Regions from separate parts of the Homo sapiens genome. Here all the other regions are linked to region 1. Evidence: promoter capture Hi-C in human tissues and cell types (Jung and others, 2019). All regions are on one chromosome and are shown on one strand. The core of a region is centred on a gene start or on the middle of the fragment in contact, and the rest is flanking DNA. Distances in the headings are between cores, read along the strand shown. Region 1 holds the start of PARP6 (poly(ADP-ribose) polymerase family member 6). Region 2 overlaps ARIH1 (ariadne RBR E3 ubiquitin protein ligase 1). Region 3 overlaps ARIH1 (ariadne RBR E3 ubiquitin protein ligase 1). Region 4 overlaps TMEM202-AS1 (TMEM202 antisense RNA 1). Region 5 overlaps MYO9A (myosin IXA).

Evidence for each region. The method cuts DNA at HindIII sites, captures the fragments that hold promoters and counts their contacts. A contact is called where the count stands out against the background at its distance.
Region 2: a contact is called between a fragment that was not itself captured here and the fragment with the promoter of PARP6 in region 1, in 1 of the 25 tissues and cell types used here (mesenchymal stem cells).
Region 3: a fragment that was not itself captured here is called in contact with the fragment with the promoter of PARP6 in region 1 in 1 of the 25 tissues and cell types used here (bladder).
Region 4: a contact is called between a fragment that was not itself captured here and the fragment with the promoter of PARP6 in region 1, in 2 of the 25 tissues and cell types used here (hippocampus and spleen).
Region 5: a contact is called between a fragment that was not itself captured here and the fragment with the promoter of PARP6 in region 1, in 1 of the 25 tissues and cell types used here (hippocampus).

Annotation. Positions count from the first base shown.
Region 1 is chr15:72,270,834-72,273,984 of GRCh38, reverse strand. PARP6 (poly(ADP-ribose) polymerase family member 6) reads left to right here and starts at 1,431. Exons shown (of 24, transcript NM_001323532.2): 1 at 1,431-1,592; 2 at 2,698-2,962. RefSeq lists enhancers at 929-1,018, 1,079-1,128 and a silencer at 1,269-1,688. The HindIII fragment of the contact is 3,446 bases long and covers 240-3,151 here.
Region 2 is chr15:72,506,270-72,509,420 of GRCh38, reverse strand. All of the region lies in intron 1 of ARIH1 (ariadne RBR E3 ubiquitin protein ligase 1), which reads right to left. Among named protein-coding and RNA genes, the nearest start is that of ARIH1, 34 kb to the right of the region's middle. The HindIII fragment of the contact is 4,796 bases long and covers 1-3,151 here.
Region 3 is chr15:72,489,279-72,492,429 of GRCh38, reverse strand. All of the region lies in intron 1 of ARIH1 (ariadne RBR E3 ubiquitin protein ligase 1), which reads right to left. Among named protein-coding and RNA genes, the nearest start is that of ARIH1, 17 kb to the right of the region's middle. The HindIII fragment of the contact is 3,971 bases long and covers 1-3,151 here.
Region 4 is chr15:72,461,405-72,464,555 of GRCh38, reverse strand. The region is part of intron 1 of TMEM202-AS1 (TMEM202 antisense RNA 1); the gene reads left to right. Among named protein-coding and RNA genes, the nearest start is that of TMEM202-AS1, 11 kb to the left of the region's middle. RefSeq lists an enhancer at 2,281-2,550. The HindIII fragment of the contact is 4,046 bases long and covers 1-3,151 here.
Region 5 is chr15:72,101,230-72,104,380 of GRCh38, reverse strand. The region is part of intron 1 of MYO9A (myosin IXA); the gene reads left to right. Among named protein-coding and RNA genes, the nearest start is that of MYO9A, 15 kb to the left of the region's middle. RefSeq lists an enhancer at 1,803-2,313. The HindIII fragment of the contact is 8,126 bases long and covers 1-3,151 here.

The DNA of each region.
Region 1 (3,151 bases), core at 182-2,681:
ATACTTGGTTCTCAAAAGCTATTACGGGGCCCTTGATGGTGAGTTGTTTTAGAGAGCAGGCCTGACTCCTTCCCCTACCACTCTGAACTTCCGCACTCTGAAACCGAGGTTATATTGATCCCTCACTTTTTTCAGTTACTATAAGCAGTAGATGTAACAAACTCACACCGAGACGGTGTTGTGGCCCAGGCTGAGTGGCAAGGTGAGCAGAGGGGGACATCAAAAGGGGAAGGAGTTAGAAAGGAGAGGCTGAGAATGTGCAAATGTAAATCAACCAACAACAAAAAGTTAACTGGGAAACTTCTGAGGCCAGCTTAGGAGGGATAGACATGACGTGTTTATATCATTCAGGGCCAAAGCCTTCTTTGTGTGTACTGTGTCCAGCTACAAAGAGGGAGTGAGGAAACAGAGTAGGTCTAAGATAAGCCTTTTCCCATTAGTGTTGATGGAAAAGAGGGTCACGTGGAAGCCCCAAGACTAATAAGGATGAAGGAGATCTGGCCATGTCTAGGGTTAATAACCACAATAACCACAATTACAGCTTCCATGTATGAACTACTTCCTAGTCCCAAGTACTCTGCTGGTTACTTTACATGGATTAGTTGGAATCGTATGAAATTGAAGGTATCTGACTGTTTATAAACTGCAAAAATAGCAATTTCCTACGGTTCAACCTAACACTATCTCAGTTCATCCTCACCACAACGGCTCCGTGAAACACATATTACTGTCTCCACCTCAAAGAGGAGAAATCAGATTCACAAAGTGAAAGTCATCGCTTAAGGCTGCACCATCAATAAGTGCCGAACCCAAGCTTCAGACCCAGATTGACTAGAAGGCCAGGGTGCTCTCCATCACGCTGCAGCTACCGGGGAACAAATGAGTTAAATGCCAGAATTTTTAAAAGCCCGAGGTGTTCGACTTCCATTGTCGAACCAGAGAATCCTGCAGTCAGCAAGGCCTCAGGACTTCCCTCAGTCTCTACCTGCCGGCCCCAACCTCCGGCGAGGGGACTCCCTCCCGGCCTACAGGCAACCTGGGTTGCCCTTCCTGCTTGTTCCTCCCAACCACTCGGGGCGCTAAATGCAAGTATTCTCCTTTGGAAGGCTCCCCGCACTCCCCCAGAGTCCCTCTTCCTTCTCCACTGCCTCCCCTACCCACGGCGCAGGCGCCACCCCCCACTCCGCACCCTTTCCCGACTAGCGACCGCCGCGCAGGCGTCTCAAGGCTGGCGTCGGCTGCTGAGGCGCGCCCAGGAGCAGGCCGTCAGGCTGTTGGTCAGGAGCGGGCCACGTGCCATCGTGTCACCGCGCGAGCGTGCGCAGAGTGGCTGAGCGCGCCCGTGACGGAACGACGAGGCGTGGGGTGCGCGACCTCGCCCGCCAGGCCCGGCCCCCGCCCCTTGGCCTGCCGCTCCGCCCCCGCGGGGCGTCCCGGGCCGCTCGTCCCGTCGGCTGCGGCCGCGCGCGGCCCGGGGTCGCCGTGAGTACTCGCCAGGCTGGCCTGTGTGGCCGCCACCACGGGCACAGGGCGGTGCGGCCGGGCCACGGGAAGGGTGCGGGGCTCGCCCCGTCTCCGCAGGGGTGGACGAAGTGAGAGGCTTGGACCGGGAGGTTCTGAGGGCCCCTCCTAGGCTGGACAGGCTTCACTCAGGCCCGGCGGCCGGGCGGCATAGATCGGGCCCAGAGCGTCTTTCCTGGGGAGGCAGGTGTTGGGTGTTTTTGGGGTCTTCAGGGGAGCCCCGGAGAACAGGTGTAACTGCTTCCCCGGGAGAGGCCTCAGGGCCTGTCCTGGAAGCACGGGTGCCAGAGAGTGTTTTCGCGGGGCAGCCGTGTCCTCTCTCCCTGCGGGGTGCCCGAGATAGCGCTAACCTGCGGGAGTCGCCCCTCAGTGATTCTTCCTAGTAGTCTTTGTTTAGTGGCCTACTCCTGAGAAGGGAGCACACGGGATGGAGTGGAGTAACCTCCTCCAGGACCACAAAGCCGGGAGCCCAACCCACAATTTAAACATTGAGCTCTGAAGCTGCTTTGACTAGACGTGAAGTTGTCACACCTAGAGAAGCGCCCATGGACCTAGGGAAAGACCTTTGTGATCCAGACTTGAGGCTCATTTACATTTGACTTATTCTCGTGGAAACTCATAAAGCGTTCTATATTAGCCGCTGAGTTTTAACACCTTCTCTGGACACTCATCATATAGTCTATTTTTGGCCCAACTTCTTTTGAAAGGGCCCATTCTTTACCTCATTTAGATAAATCAGATAGGTCTTTCTTGCTTACTTCATTAACAACTCAATTAATTATAACCACATCACATGAAGATTAGATGTAATTAGGACCTGTCCAATGTCTTTACATCCCAGTCCTTCTGTACTCCTAACCTTAAGCAAATTGGTCGACCTCTGTAGGTCTAAGTATTCTGTGTGTAACATGAAAGCTTTGAATTAGGCCACGTTTCCGGCTAATTTTTTAAAAAGTGTTTGTGATCCTGTGAATTCCATAACCCACCACCTTCCTTTTCCAACTCTTCACCTTTTAAATCCACTTTCCATCTCTCCAGAGGAAAGGGCATTGAGAGTAGAGGAAGCAAGTCCCTTTCACTAAAGCAGCCTGGTTTGAAAAAGCCGGTAATCTCTGAACTGTCTCTTGCTTGAACAAGAAAAACTCCCTCTGAAATACCTTTTTCTCCTTGTGATAGCAACAGAAACCAAGCAGCAACAGCCCTTGGAAAGAGGCTAAATTTTTCTTGACTTCTGCAGCAACAAAGACCGTGAAAAGTTGGCACTTCTGGCCTAACGCTGCCGTCATCCTACCCCTCACCCCAGGGCAACCCAGGCTGGACATTTAGTGCCTCCCTCTTTATTCCTCTGTGATCATCCAGATCAGCACTTGACTGTTTATTTTCAAATCTCACGAACCTCACCCCAAGATCTTCACATTCTGGATCTCAGCTGCTCTTGAAGGTGAAGTTTTGCTTTTTAAAATCATTTTTTTGTGTGATTTTTGTCTATGTGTAGAAACATGCAGGTTATTGTATATATCTCCCATTTGACTTAAGTATCCAGCAGAGGGTTCATTCATTTATTCTCTCATTCAAGAAATGTGTTAAGGGACTAAGAATGTAGACTGAAAGCAGTCAAAGCCTCTGCCAC
Region 2 (3,151 bases), core at 298-2,797, 240 kb before region 1:
TTATCAAAACTCAGAGAACTGTATGCTCCAGTGTAAATTTTATTGTATGAAACTTAAAGTATTCAACTATAAACGTAATCTAGCCTGCACTGGAGCACCTGTAGTGAAGTTCTTTTAAAAAGAACAATGTGGGCCAGGTGTGGTGGCTCACACCTGTAATCCCACCACTTTGGGAGACCGAGGCAGGTGATCACTTAAGGTCAGGACTTCAAGGCCAGGCTGACCAACATGATGAAACCTTGTCTCTACTAAAAATATAAACATTAGCTGGGAGTGGTGATGCACGCCTGTAGTCCCAGCTACTTGGGTGGCTGAGGCATGAGAATCACCTGAACCCAGGAAGCGGAGGTTGCAGTGAGCTGAGATCAGGCCACTGCACCCAGCCTGGGCAACAGAGCAAGACTCAGTCTCAAAAAAAAAAAAAAAGGGCCAGGCACAGTGGCTCACACCTGTAATCCCAGCACTTTGGGAAGCTAAGGCGGGTAGATCACCTAAAGTCAGGAGTTTGAGACCAGCCTGACCAATATGGTGAAACCTCATCTCTACTAAAAATACAAAAATTAGCCGGGCATGGTGGCGTATGCCTGTAGTCCCAGCTACTCGGGAGTCTGAGACAGGAGAATTGCTTGAACCCGGGACGTGGAGGTTGCAGTGAGCCGAGACTGCACCACTACACTCCAGCCTGGGTGATAGAGAGAGACTCCGTCTCAAAAAAAAAAAAAAAAGAAAGAAAGAACAATGAGAGTAAAAGGGAATGCTGAAAAGGAGAACATAGATTTGAAATTATTTAGTGCCGGGCACAATGCTAGATACTTTATATACATTATTTCATTTAATACTCACATCAATATTTTATGCAAGTTAGATATGATTTACATTTTACAGATGAGGTTACAGAGGTTAAGTGTCTTGGTCCAGGATAAAATAGGCTAGTAGGATTTGAATACATGGAGAAATTATTTTTTAATTTATGATTATAGCACCACTCCCTACAAGGACTTGTCAAAGGAGAGAAATTCACTTCGGTGTGCCACCAAAACTGATAGTTCAGTGAAAAGCCAATTCAAGCTCTTGGCTGAAATAAAGAGCTCTTCATCCTTTTTAAAGGATATAAACAAACCAAACAAAAACAGTTTGAGTAAAATCACTATAATCAGAAAACTAGTACTAATACTAGCAGCAGTACATTTAACTTTTAGGACAATAGAACAACCTAAAACCTTACATCTTGTCTAGTTATAACTCTAAATCAGTACCACCCACCCCTGTCCATTCTGGCTACATATAAGAATCTCCTGAGGAACTTAAAAAATACCATTAATTGGGCTTTGCCCCCAGCAATTCTGATTCAACTGTCAAGGGTAGAATATGAATATATATATTTTCATCCAACATTTTTATCTGAAGGTCCCCAGATGATCCTAACATGCAGACAGAACTGGGAACTACTGCTCTAAACAATTTCCCACTACACAGGCTCCGAAAAAGTACATCTGTAGAACTCCCATGAATGTGGCAGTATAGTATTTTAGTAATCTAAAGAAAATAACATTCCAGGCTCAGAGCAGCTGTATTTACTTTAAAGTTTTGCATTTTGAAAAAGTTGATTAGTAAGTCTGATTATGTCAACTGTCCTAGCTGAAGCTTTAACATCAATTGCACCATCATCCCCTATCCTTTGATCAAGTAGTTCTCAATTTTAGTAGCACATAAGCTCTTAATTGACTGTTATTTATTTATTTATTTTTATTTAAAGACAGGATCTTGCTATGTTGCCCAGGCTGGTCTCAAATTCCTGGGCTCATGCAATCCTCCAGCTTCAGCCTCCCAAAACACAGGGATTATAGGAATGAGCCACTGTGCACAGCCATCTAGGAAGCTTTTAAACAAGCCACAAACCCCAGGCCAAATATATCAGAATATGGGGGGAGTGAGGAAGAGGACTGAGGGGGACACCTGGGCATTACCATTTTCAAAAACTCCCAAGAGATTCCAATAAGCAGTCACAGTGGAGAATCATAATCTGGATGCACACATGTGTGCAGACAGGCCCATATTCAAGAGTATGACAAACTCTCCAGGTAGAATCACAACCAAAGCCAGGCATGGTGGCTCACGCCTGTAATCCCAGCACTTTGGGAGGCCAAGGCAGGCGGATCACTTGAGGTCAGAGTTCGAGACCAGCCTGGCCAACATGGTGAAACCCCGTCTCTACCAAAAATATACAAATATTAGCCGGGCACGGTGGTGTGCGCCTATAGTCCTAGCTACTTGGGAGGCTGAGGCAAGAGAAACACTTGAACCCAGGAGGCAGAGGTTGCGGTGAGCTGAGATCATGCCACTGCACTCCAGCCTGGGCGACAGGGCACGACTGCGTTTCAAAAAATAAATAAATAAATACATACATACATACATACATACATACATACATACATACATAAAAATAATCACAACCAAATTGCTGAATGACATTCCTATATTTAGCAGAGTGGGAGGCAACTACTTTTTCAAAAATCTCAAGAGACAACTTTCTTATTTTAGGATAAAGCTAAGTAAAAAAACAAACAAAAAAAACAAAAAAAAACCACTTTTTTATTCCAGTTTACATACACAGAAAACCTCCAAAACCCACCTTTTTATTATTTCAGAATTTGATCTGAACGAGAATTAAACAGGTTAGAGGCACCACCTTAAACCTCAGTTTTAAGATTTTCCTACAGAAGCATGGGCTCATGTTTGCATAAAATCTACAAGCTCCTCAAATGAGCTGCTTATGGGTCCAAAATTTAAAGAGAATTTTTTAATACTTTTTAAACAATATTAGAAACTCAAAAGTCACAAAGTATAAAAACATCTGTATTCTAAGGAATATTTATAAATGCTACAACAAAAATGAGCAAGCATACCCACTCAAAAAAGAAAATAATCCAACAAAAATGGACAGTTCATCAATTCCCATATTACAATTGGCTGAAAAACACACGAAAATATCCAATCTCCTTAATACAATGAATGCTTTAAATCTTCCACAATGACTAAGTTCTTTTTTTTTTTCTTTTTTTTTTTTTTGTGAGACGGAGTCTTGCTCTGTCGCCCAGGCTGGAGTGCAGTGGCGCAATCTCGCCTCATTGCAAGCTCCACCTCCCGGGTG
Region 3 (3,151 bases), core at 329-2,828, 220 kb before region 1:
GAACTATTTTCTCATTACCGAGCAAAATAAACTGGCTCTTCTCCCTTTAAAGCAAGCATTTGTTATCTAGTGCCTCCATAACAGTTTCACGGTGCTATTCTTCCAGAATCTCTTGGTGCTTCTTTCAGAAGAATGCTGGGCTTTTTGGACCACTAGTCTAAGTTTGTAACTTCATACATAAATAACGAACAAATTTTATATAATATATATGTATTCTATTACTTTGGTCGAGAATTATTTTTTATTAAACTTTGTGTTTTTAAATGCTTAGAGTAGAAAACAGTAAATATAACAGCAATTTTGGCTTGATATTTTCTTGAGGATGGTACATATGTAAGCTGTAAAGTCTTAAATGGGGTATGTAGTAGACTTCTGACTCTATTCCACTCTTAGTCATTTATTTGGATTCAGAGGCCACAGCAATGAAGTCACAAGTCAGAGCCCATTGACTCAGCCTGTATAAGTCAGTCTTCTGGAGCACAGCAGGATGGAAAAAGGTAGAAGAGTTCCGCAGAGGCAAACAGAAAATACCCAGCACACACAACAATAACATTCACACGTTTGTGTATATTTAATGATATAAAATACTGAGTTCCAACTCCAGCTATGAAAAGCTGGTTATTTAATTCCTCTATGCCTCTAATTCCTTAACCACAAAACAGTAAAAATGTCACCTATTTCACATAACAGTTGTGATAACTAAAGTTCCGTAAGATAACTGGTTAAGAGCAAAAAGTAGTATGTTAGAGAATGAGGGAAGGGTTAATTCAGTGAATTTGGTAGAAGAGAAATGTGAACAATTCACAAAGGAAAAAAATGGGGATAGTACCAAGACTTATTTTTATCAATAATAAAATCAATTAGAAAATTCATTCATATCTGACTTTTCACTCAATGTCTAACAGCTATGTTCCAGGAACTTTGTGGGTACAACGTGAATACCAAAATTAATACACTGATCAAACAACCAAGAATTTCAGAGTCTATCTAGTAAGGAAATAATGAGATAAGAGCTTTTTATTATAAAAGTATATACAAAATTCTGAGGCTCACAGGGAAAGATTCAAGGAAGAAACAATATTTACAGTGGGTCATGAAGTATGAATGGGTTTATGGGGGGGTGGGGGGAAGCATTTGAAGCATAGGAAAAAAACCTTACAAAGGCATACAGAAAATTTCCACAGGGAATGTGATTATTATGCTATAATACGAATAAGCATAAAGAAATGGCAGCTAAGGTAGATAGGGGCACATTATGAAAAGCCTGATTTATCATGCTAATAAATCTTTTATTTTTTATTTTTATTTTTTTCGAGACAAGAGTCTTACTCTGTCATCCAGCCTGGAGTGCAGTGGCACGATCTCGGCTCACTGCAACCTCTGCCTCCCAGGTTCAAGCAATTCTCCTGCCTCAGCCTCCCGAGTAGCTGGGATTACAGGAGCACACCACCACACCGGGCTAATTTTTATATTTTTAGTAGACACGGGGTTTCACCATGTTGGCCAGGCTGGTCTCGAACTCCTGACCTCATGATCTGCCCACCTCGGCCTCCCAAAGTGCAGGGATTACAGGTGTGAGCAAATCTTTTATCCTAATCTGCATTGTTTAGTCACTGGGACTCAAAGGCTCAAAACATGTTTGGCTAAGTAGGTTCCTTTTAAGTTTCCTATGCTATTGGCTGCCCACATAACCACTCCTATCCCTGCTTCCTCTCCCATCCCTGCTTGTCATGAATGATAAAGATGTGATATGCTTCCTCAGACTATAGATTTAGGCCAAATATGAACATTTTTGAAACTACAGTACAGTGGTCCCCAACTTTTTGGCACTAGGGACTGGTTTCATGGAAGACAATTTTTCCATGAAAGGAGCGGGAGGGGAGTGGAGTCAGACAATAACAATGAATATTCCACCTCAGATTATCAGGCATTAGATTCTCATAAGGAGTGCCAACCTAGATCCCTTGAATGCACAATTTACAATAGGGTTTGCACTCCTATGAGAATCTAATGCCGCTGCCAATCTGACACGAGGCAGAGCTCAGGTGGTAACGCTCCCTGGCTGCTCGCCTCCTGCTGTGCTGCCCAGTTCACAACAGGCCACAGCCTGAGGATTGGGAACTCCTGCTGTAATAAACTGAGTAAGGTGACTAACTTGTAAGAGAAGGAGACTTTTTTTTTTTTTTTGAGAAGGAGACATTTCAGCATTCCCTGAAAAACATTTTTTTTGCTAGAGATGGGGTCTCACTATGTTGCCCAGGCTGGTCTCAAACTCCTTGGTTCTATCAATCCTCCTGCCTCAGCCTCCCAAAGTGCTGGGATTACACGCTTGAACCACCGTGACTGGCCTCCCTGAAAAATCTGTGGTGACTATACGTATTACATTCACAAGGCTACAAAGGCCTCTTTTCCATTATTATCATCCTTTTCACAGTTCTTTTGATTTTTCTGATTTTTTTCCAAAGAGAGCCTTCTAATAGCTTTTAACAAGACTCTACTTATCCACAAAGATCAATATTTCCCTTTCCTAAAAACCAACTGGTTGCTTTGGAGGGCAAAGCTTTCCGTAACCCACAGAGGTGCCAACATATAACAAAAGTGAACCATACCAGGGTTGACATCTTATAAAAATAACATTTCAAAAGACAAACTGGTAGTGTGTGGAAATTTGAGGTAACAGCAATACGCTAAGATTCTCAACTGTGGAAACCTGCCCAGGGTAGGTCCAGAAACAGAAACAAGCTCACAAGTCAAAAGCACACACAAATGTTTTCATTTTGGGACGACCACCATACTTCAGTATGCAGAAGTGCTTTAGGCATACCTCCCATTTTGTCACACAAGCAATTAAGATGTGTCCTTAAGGAATAAAGACTTAGAAAACTAGTAATTTTTACTTATTCATTTAGGATTAAGTGAAACGTATTTTTTTACTCTGAGTGTGTGATAGTGAAGAACACAATGACTACTAGCATACTTTGGTGCCACTGATACCTTCTGTACTAAGGTGCCAGTGGTTTTACCTCCTCATTGCCCTGCAACATCAGCACAAATGCCAGAACATTTTAAGAGGCAAATAGTGTCTTTCTGTTATTATTAAATAGTTTTGTTCTTATGGACCATACTTTGAGAAGTACTGTATTAAACTGAT
Region 4 (3,151 bases), core at 301-2,800, 190 kb before region 1:
TTCACATTTTGCTTTCTGGAAAAGATAATTTAACATTGGATACGTGGATTGACACATTTAAATTGCTGGAGCAGCATACCAAGTTCCTTTTTTTTTTGTTATTTTGAGGTGAAGTTTCAGTTTCGCTGTTGTCCAGGCTGGAGGGCAATGGCGCGATCTCAGCTCACCACAACCTCTGCTTCCCGGGTTGAAGCAATTCTCCTGCCTCAGCCTCCTGAGTAGCTGGGATTACAGGCATGCGCCACTATGTCTAGCTAATTTTGTATTTTTAGTAGAGATGGGGTTTCTCCATGTTGGTCAGGCTGGTCTCAAACTCCCGACCTCAGGTGATCCGCCCACCTTGTCCTCCCAAAGTGCTGGAATTACAGGCGTGAGCCACCGCACCCGGCCTCAAGTTCCCATTTTAAAGAATTTGACAGGACAATAAAGTAATTAAAATCATTACATTGTATCTACATGTTATTAAAACAGAATAGTCCTGGAGGTTTATACCATATTGATTAGTATATTTGTTTACATTAAGCAAAGCCGAGCATATGTGGGCACATTTTTTTTCTAAATCACAAGCTGCATGTATGAGCCGTGAGCCTTTGTTTCTCCTAAGTGAGTGTATATGGGAGATTGCAGGTGGAGAGGGTCAGACAGAGGGATGAGATATTGTGCAACAGTGAGTATTCTTACTCAGCTGACTTTGAGAGGCACAATAGTGTGGTAGTTAGCACCATACATGCCAGAGCTAGAAACCCTACTTATTAAATATGTGACCTTAGGCAAATTAGTTTACCTCTTACAAGCCTGTTTCCTCATCTGAGGAAAAAAAAAGGAAAAATAATAAGGTTTTCCTCATTGGATTGCAATGATGAAATGAGTTAGTGTAAAGGACTTACATTATTATTATTTGACACAGGAAGTGTACAGAGCTTTGTTTTAGGTCTGACTATATACAAAGATGATTATTCAATTTTAAAGTAGTGGCCCTTTGAAGAAAACAAAGCAATATTCATTTGTCAAATTGCTGAAAATGCTACTGTGCTCTTCTTGTATGCCTGTATTTTTATTAGTTAATTCAACAAGTCAGTTGTTCACTAACATGTCAGGCACTGTGCTAGATGTTGAGGTTAAGAAGATAAATAGGCCAGGCGCGGTGGCTCACGCCTGTCTGTAATTCCAGCACATTGGGAGGCCGAGGCGAGCGGATCGCCTGAGGTTGGGAGTTTGAGACCAGCCTGGCCAGACGGTGAAATCCTGTCTCTATTAAAAATGCAAAAAAAAAAAAAAAAATTAGCCAGGTGTGCTGGCATGCGCCTGTAAACCAGCTGCTCAGGATGCTGAGGCAGGAGAATCACTTGAACCCAGGAGGCGGAGGTTGCAGTGAGCCGAGATCCCGCCATTGCACTCCAGCCTGGACAACAGAACGAGACTCTGTCTGAAAAGATAAATAAATAAAACCATTTCAGCTCTCAAGAAGTTCTCAGGCTAGTAAGAGAAGCAGACATGTAAACCATTAATTATAAGTACTATAGTAGAAGTATGATCTGAATGTTAGGGAAGCAAGAATATATGTATCTAACTCAGTGTAGAAGGCACACAAGCGTGTCATGGAGGCCTTCCTAGGGAAAATGTGGCCTGAGCTGGCCAAGCATGGTGGCTCACGCCTGTAATCCCAGCACTTTGGGAGGCCAAGGTGGGCGGATCACGAGGTCAGGATATCGAGACCATCCTGGCTAACACGGTGAAACCCCGTCTCTACTAAAATATATATTTTTTTAAATTAGCCAGGTGTGGTGGCGGGCGCCTGTAGTCCCAGCTACTTGGGAGGCTGAGGCAGGAGAATGGCGTGAACCTGGGAGGCAGAGTTTGCAGTGAGCCAGGATCGTGCCACTGCACTCTAGCCTGGGCAACAGAGCAAGACTCCATCCAAAAAAAAAAAAAGTGTGACCTGAGCTGAGTATTGGAGGACAAATAAATGATGTTCTGGGAAGAGGAATGTGAATGTATATATAAAATATGTAAGTGTGAAATACGGCATATTTGAGCCATGCATTATTTGGGGAACTGCCAGAAATTCAGCATGCCTGAAATTTTGGGTGTATATAAGACTGTTAGGGCCAGGCACGGCGGCTCATGCTTGTAATCCCAGCACTTTGGGAGCCGAGGCAGGCGAATCACATGAGGCTAGGAGTTTGAGACCAGCCCGGCCAACATGGCGAAACCCTGTCTCTACTGAAAATACAAAAAATTAGCCAAACCTAGTGGCACTTGCCTGTAATCACAGCTACTCGGGGGGAGGGCTGAGGCACAAGAATCGCTTGAACCCGGGAGGCAGAGGTTGCAGTGAGCCAAGATCGCACCACTGCACTCCAGCCTGGAGACAGAGCGAGACCCTGTCTCAAAACAAAACAAAAACCTGCTAGAAATGCCATTGTCCCTTCTTGTACCCTTCCCCTAGAAAGGTCCCTTTTTTATTCTTTTTTATCCTCTTTCACTTTCTCTTTACATAACTTGGCTCAAGGCTCCTCGGCTTGCAAATGATAAGAGGTGGAAATCAAAGCCCTGATTCATCTCTCTGTCTCTAGTCTGTACTCCTTCTCTTATGCTACTTTGAAGATTTTCCATTCTTTGAATAAAATTTGTCATTATTTTACTAGGATTTTTGTGAGGGAGATTGTGATAGGTTGTGCTTTACTAGACTAATTTTGGTCATTACATTTAGATTTTATAGAGCTAATAGGATGAGTGCAAGTAGGGGAAGATGTACTCCATATTAATTCAATTAAATATACATATACTGAATGCAGTTGAACGTAACTATTGTGTTAGCTATTATTGAAAATACAAATCAGATTACATTTTCTGTCCTTAAGAAGCTTATATTCTAATACAGGAAATCATGCAGGAAAAAAATCTAATGCCAGATGGTTCGTCAAACAGCTGTCTGTTAAGCTTAGCACTAGGGCCATGTTTCTCAACTTTTATTTCCATTATCAGCCCCCTTATGGAACCCTTTTAGACCTGTTTTTCCTATTCAGCACCCCACTGTAAAATTTTAACACCATAGATACACTGTATATGCTTTAATGGACTGTATGTGTATCTATGCTTTATATATAAAACATACTTTTTTTCATACCCTCCCAAAAAAACAATTTTT
Region 5 (3,151 bases), core at 476-2,975, 170 kb after region 1:
CTTACAGTGGGGTTACATCCTGATAAACCCATTGTAAGTTGAAAATACCATAAGTCGAAAATGCATTTATTACACCTAACCTACCAAATATAATAGCTTAGCTTAGCCTTCCTTAAATGCGCTCAGAACACATTAGCCTACAGTTGGACAGAATCATCTGGCAACACAGTATATACTATTGAGGATCAGTTGTTTACCCTTGTGAGAGCTGCTGCTTTCTGCTGCTGCCCAGCATTATGAGAAAGTATCATACTGCATATTGCTAGCCTGGGAAAAGATAAAAATTCAAAATTTGAAGTATGGTTTCTACTGAATGCATATCGATTTTGCACTGTGCTAAAGTTGAAAAACTGTAAGTTGAACCGTCATAAGTTGTGGACCATCTGTATACAAGAGAAGGCATAAAATGTTCAGTTTAAGGGAAATAATAAAGTGAATATTAGTGTTGTCATTGCCCAGGTCAACAAGCCAGAAGTGCTTCCCTCCAACCTCACCATCCTTGTCAACATATCCCCCCTCAGTGGAGGTAGTTATTATCCTGACCTTTGTGACTGTTTTTTGCTTTGCTTCATAATTTTAAGTCCTAGCTATACATCCTTAAACAATATAGTTTTCCTTGTTTTTGAACTTCATGTGCATATAATAATACTATGTGTATATTATGTAATCTAAAAAATTAGTTCAGTATTTGTGAAATTCTTCTGCTTCTGCTGCTGCTTCTTCTGTTACTTCTGCTTCTTCTGTTTCTTCTTCTGCTTCTTCTGTTGCTTCTTCTGCTTCCACTGCTTCTGCTGCTTCTGCTTCCACTGCTTCTGCTGCTTCTGCTTCCACTGCTTCTGCTGCTTCTGCTTCCACTGCTTCTGCTGCTTCTGCTGCCACTGCTTCTGCTTCTGCGCTGCTTCTGCTTCTGCTGCTGCTTCTTCTTCTGCTGCTGCTTCTGCTTCTGCTGCTGCTGCTTCTGCTGCTGCTTGCTGCTTGCTGCTGCTTCTGCTGCTGCTGCTTCTGCTTCTGCTGCTGCTTCTGTCTCTGCTTGCTGCTGCTTCTGCTTCTGCTGCTGCTGCTTGCTGCTGCTTCTGCTTCTGCTGCTGCTGCTTGCTGCTGCTTCTGCTGCTGCCTCTGCTTCTCCTTCTGCTGCTGCTGCTTCTGCTGCTGCTTCTGCTTCTGCTGCTGCTTTTTTTTTTTCTTGAGACTTAGTCTTACTCTGCCACCCAGGCTGGAGTGCAGTGGCGCAATCTTGGCTCACTGCAACCTCCGCCTGCCAGGCTCAAGTGATTCTCCTTCCTCAGCCGAGGAGAATCACTTGAACCCGGGAGTGGAGGTTCAGTGAACAGAGATCGCACCACTGCACTCCAGCCTGGGTGACAGAGTGAGATTCCATCTCAAAAAACAAAGAAACAACAACAAAAAAAACCATATATAATTTGAATTTATCTGTAGATTCTTCTGGATTTCCTATATATATAATTATGTCATATGCAAATAATGACAATTTTGTCTCTTGTTTCTAATCCTTATACCTTTTATTTTTTTCCTGCTTTCCTTTGCTGCCTGAGATCTCCAGCATAATGTTGATAGGACTTTATAGGGCCATCTTTGTCTTGTTTCTCATCTCAAGGGAAAAATGTTCAACCTTTCCTCATTAAGCATGGTGTAGGCTTTGTAGATACCTTTTATCGAATCAAGGAAGCTTCTGTTTTTCTTTTGCCAAGACTCCATTAGAGACGTGTATAACTACTGAATTTTCTTGGATTTTTTTGAGATGTGGTTGATTGTATTGATTGGCTTTCTGATATATCTGTTATTTCTGGATTCAGAGTCCAGAGTGCTCACCATTACACCATGGAACCACCTAATCTGTTATTTCTTTTTTTTTTTTTTTTTAAATTTATTTATTTTTTATTGATAATTCTTGGGTGTTTCTCACAGAGGGGGATTTGGCAGGGTCATAGGACAATAGTGGAGGGAAGGTCAGCAGATAAACAAGTGAACAAAGGTCTCTGGTTTTCCTAGGCAGAGGACCCTGCGGCCTTCCGCAGTATTTGTGTCCCTGGGTACTTGAGATTAGGGAGTGGTGATGACTCTTAACGAGCATGCTGCCTTCAAGCATCTGTTTAACAAAGCACATCTTGCACCGCCCTTAATCCGTTTAACCCTGAGTGGACACAGCACATGTTTCAGAGAGCACAGGGTTGGGGGTAAGGTCACAGATCAACAGGATCCCAAGGCAGAAGTTTTCTTAGTACAGAACAAAATGAAAAGTCTCCCATGTCTACTTCTTTCTACACAGACACGGCAACCATCCGATTTCTCAATCTTTTCCCCACCTTTCCCGCCTTTCTATTCCACAAAGCCGCCATTGTCATCCTGGCCCGTTCTCAATGAGCTGTTGGGCACACCTCCCAGACGGGGTGGTGGCCGGGCAGAGGGGCTCCTCACTTCCCAGTAGGGGCGGCCGGGCAGAGGCGCCCCTCACCTCCCGGGCGGGGCCGCTGGCCGGTCGGGGGCTGACCCCCCCACCTCCCTCCCGGACGGGGCGGCTGGCCGGGCGGGGGGCTGACCCCGCCACCTCCCTCCCGGACGGGGCGGCTGGCCTGGCAGAGGGGCTCCTCACTTCCCAGTAGGGGCGGCCGGGCAGAGGCGCCCCTCACCTCCCAGACGGGGCGGCTGGCCGGGCGGGGGGCTGACCCCCCCCACCTCCCTCCCAGACGGGGCGGCTGGCCGGGCGGGGCCTGACCCCCCCACCTCCCTCCTGGATGGGGCGGCTGGCCGGGCAGAGGGGCTCCTCACTTCCCAGTAGGGGCGGCCGGGCAGAGGCGCCCCTCACCTCCCGGACGGGGCGGCTGGCCGGGCGGGGGGCTGACCCCCCCACCTCCCTCCCGGACGGGGCGGCTGGCCGGGCGGGGGGCTGACCCCGCCACCTCCCTCCCGGACGGGGCGGCTGGCCTGGCAGAGGGGCTCCTCACTTCCCAGTAGGGGCGGCCAGGCAGAGGCGCCCCTCACCTCCCAGATGGGGCGGCTGGCCGGGCGGGAGGCTGACGCCCCGACCTCCCTCCCGGACGGGGCGGCTGGCCTGGCGGGGGGCTGAACCCACCTCCCTCCCTGACGGGGCGGCTGGCCGGGCGGGGGGCTGACCCCCCCACCTCCCTCCCGG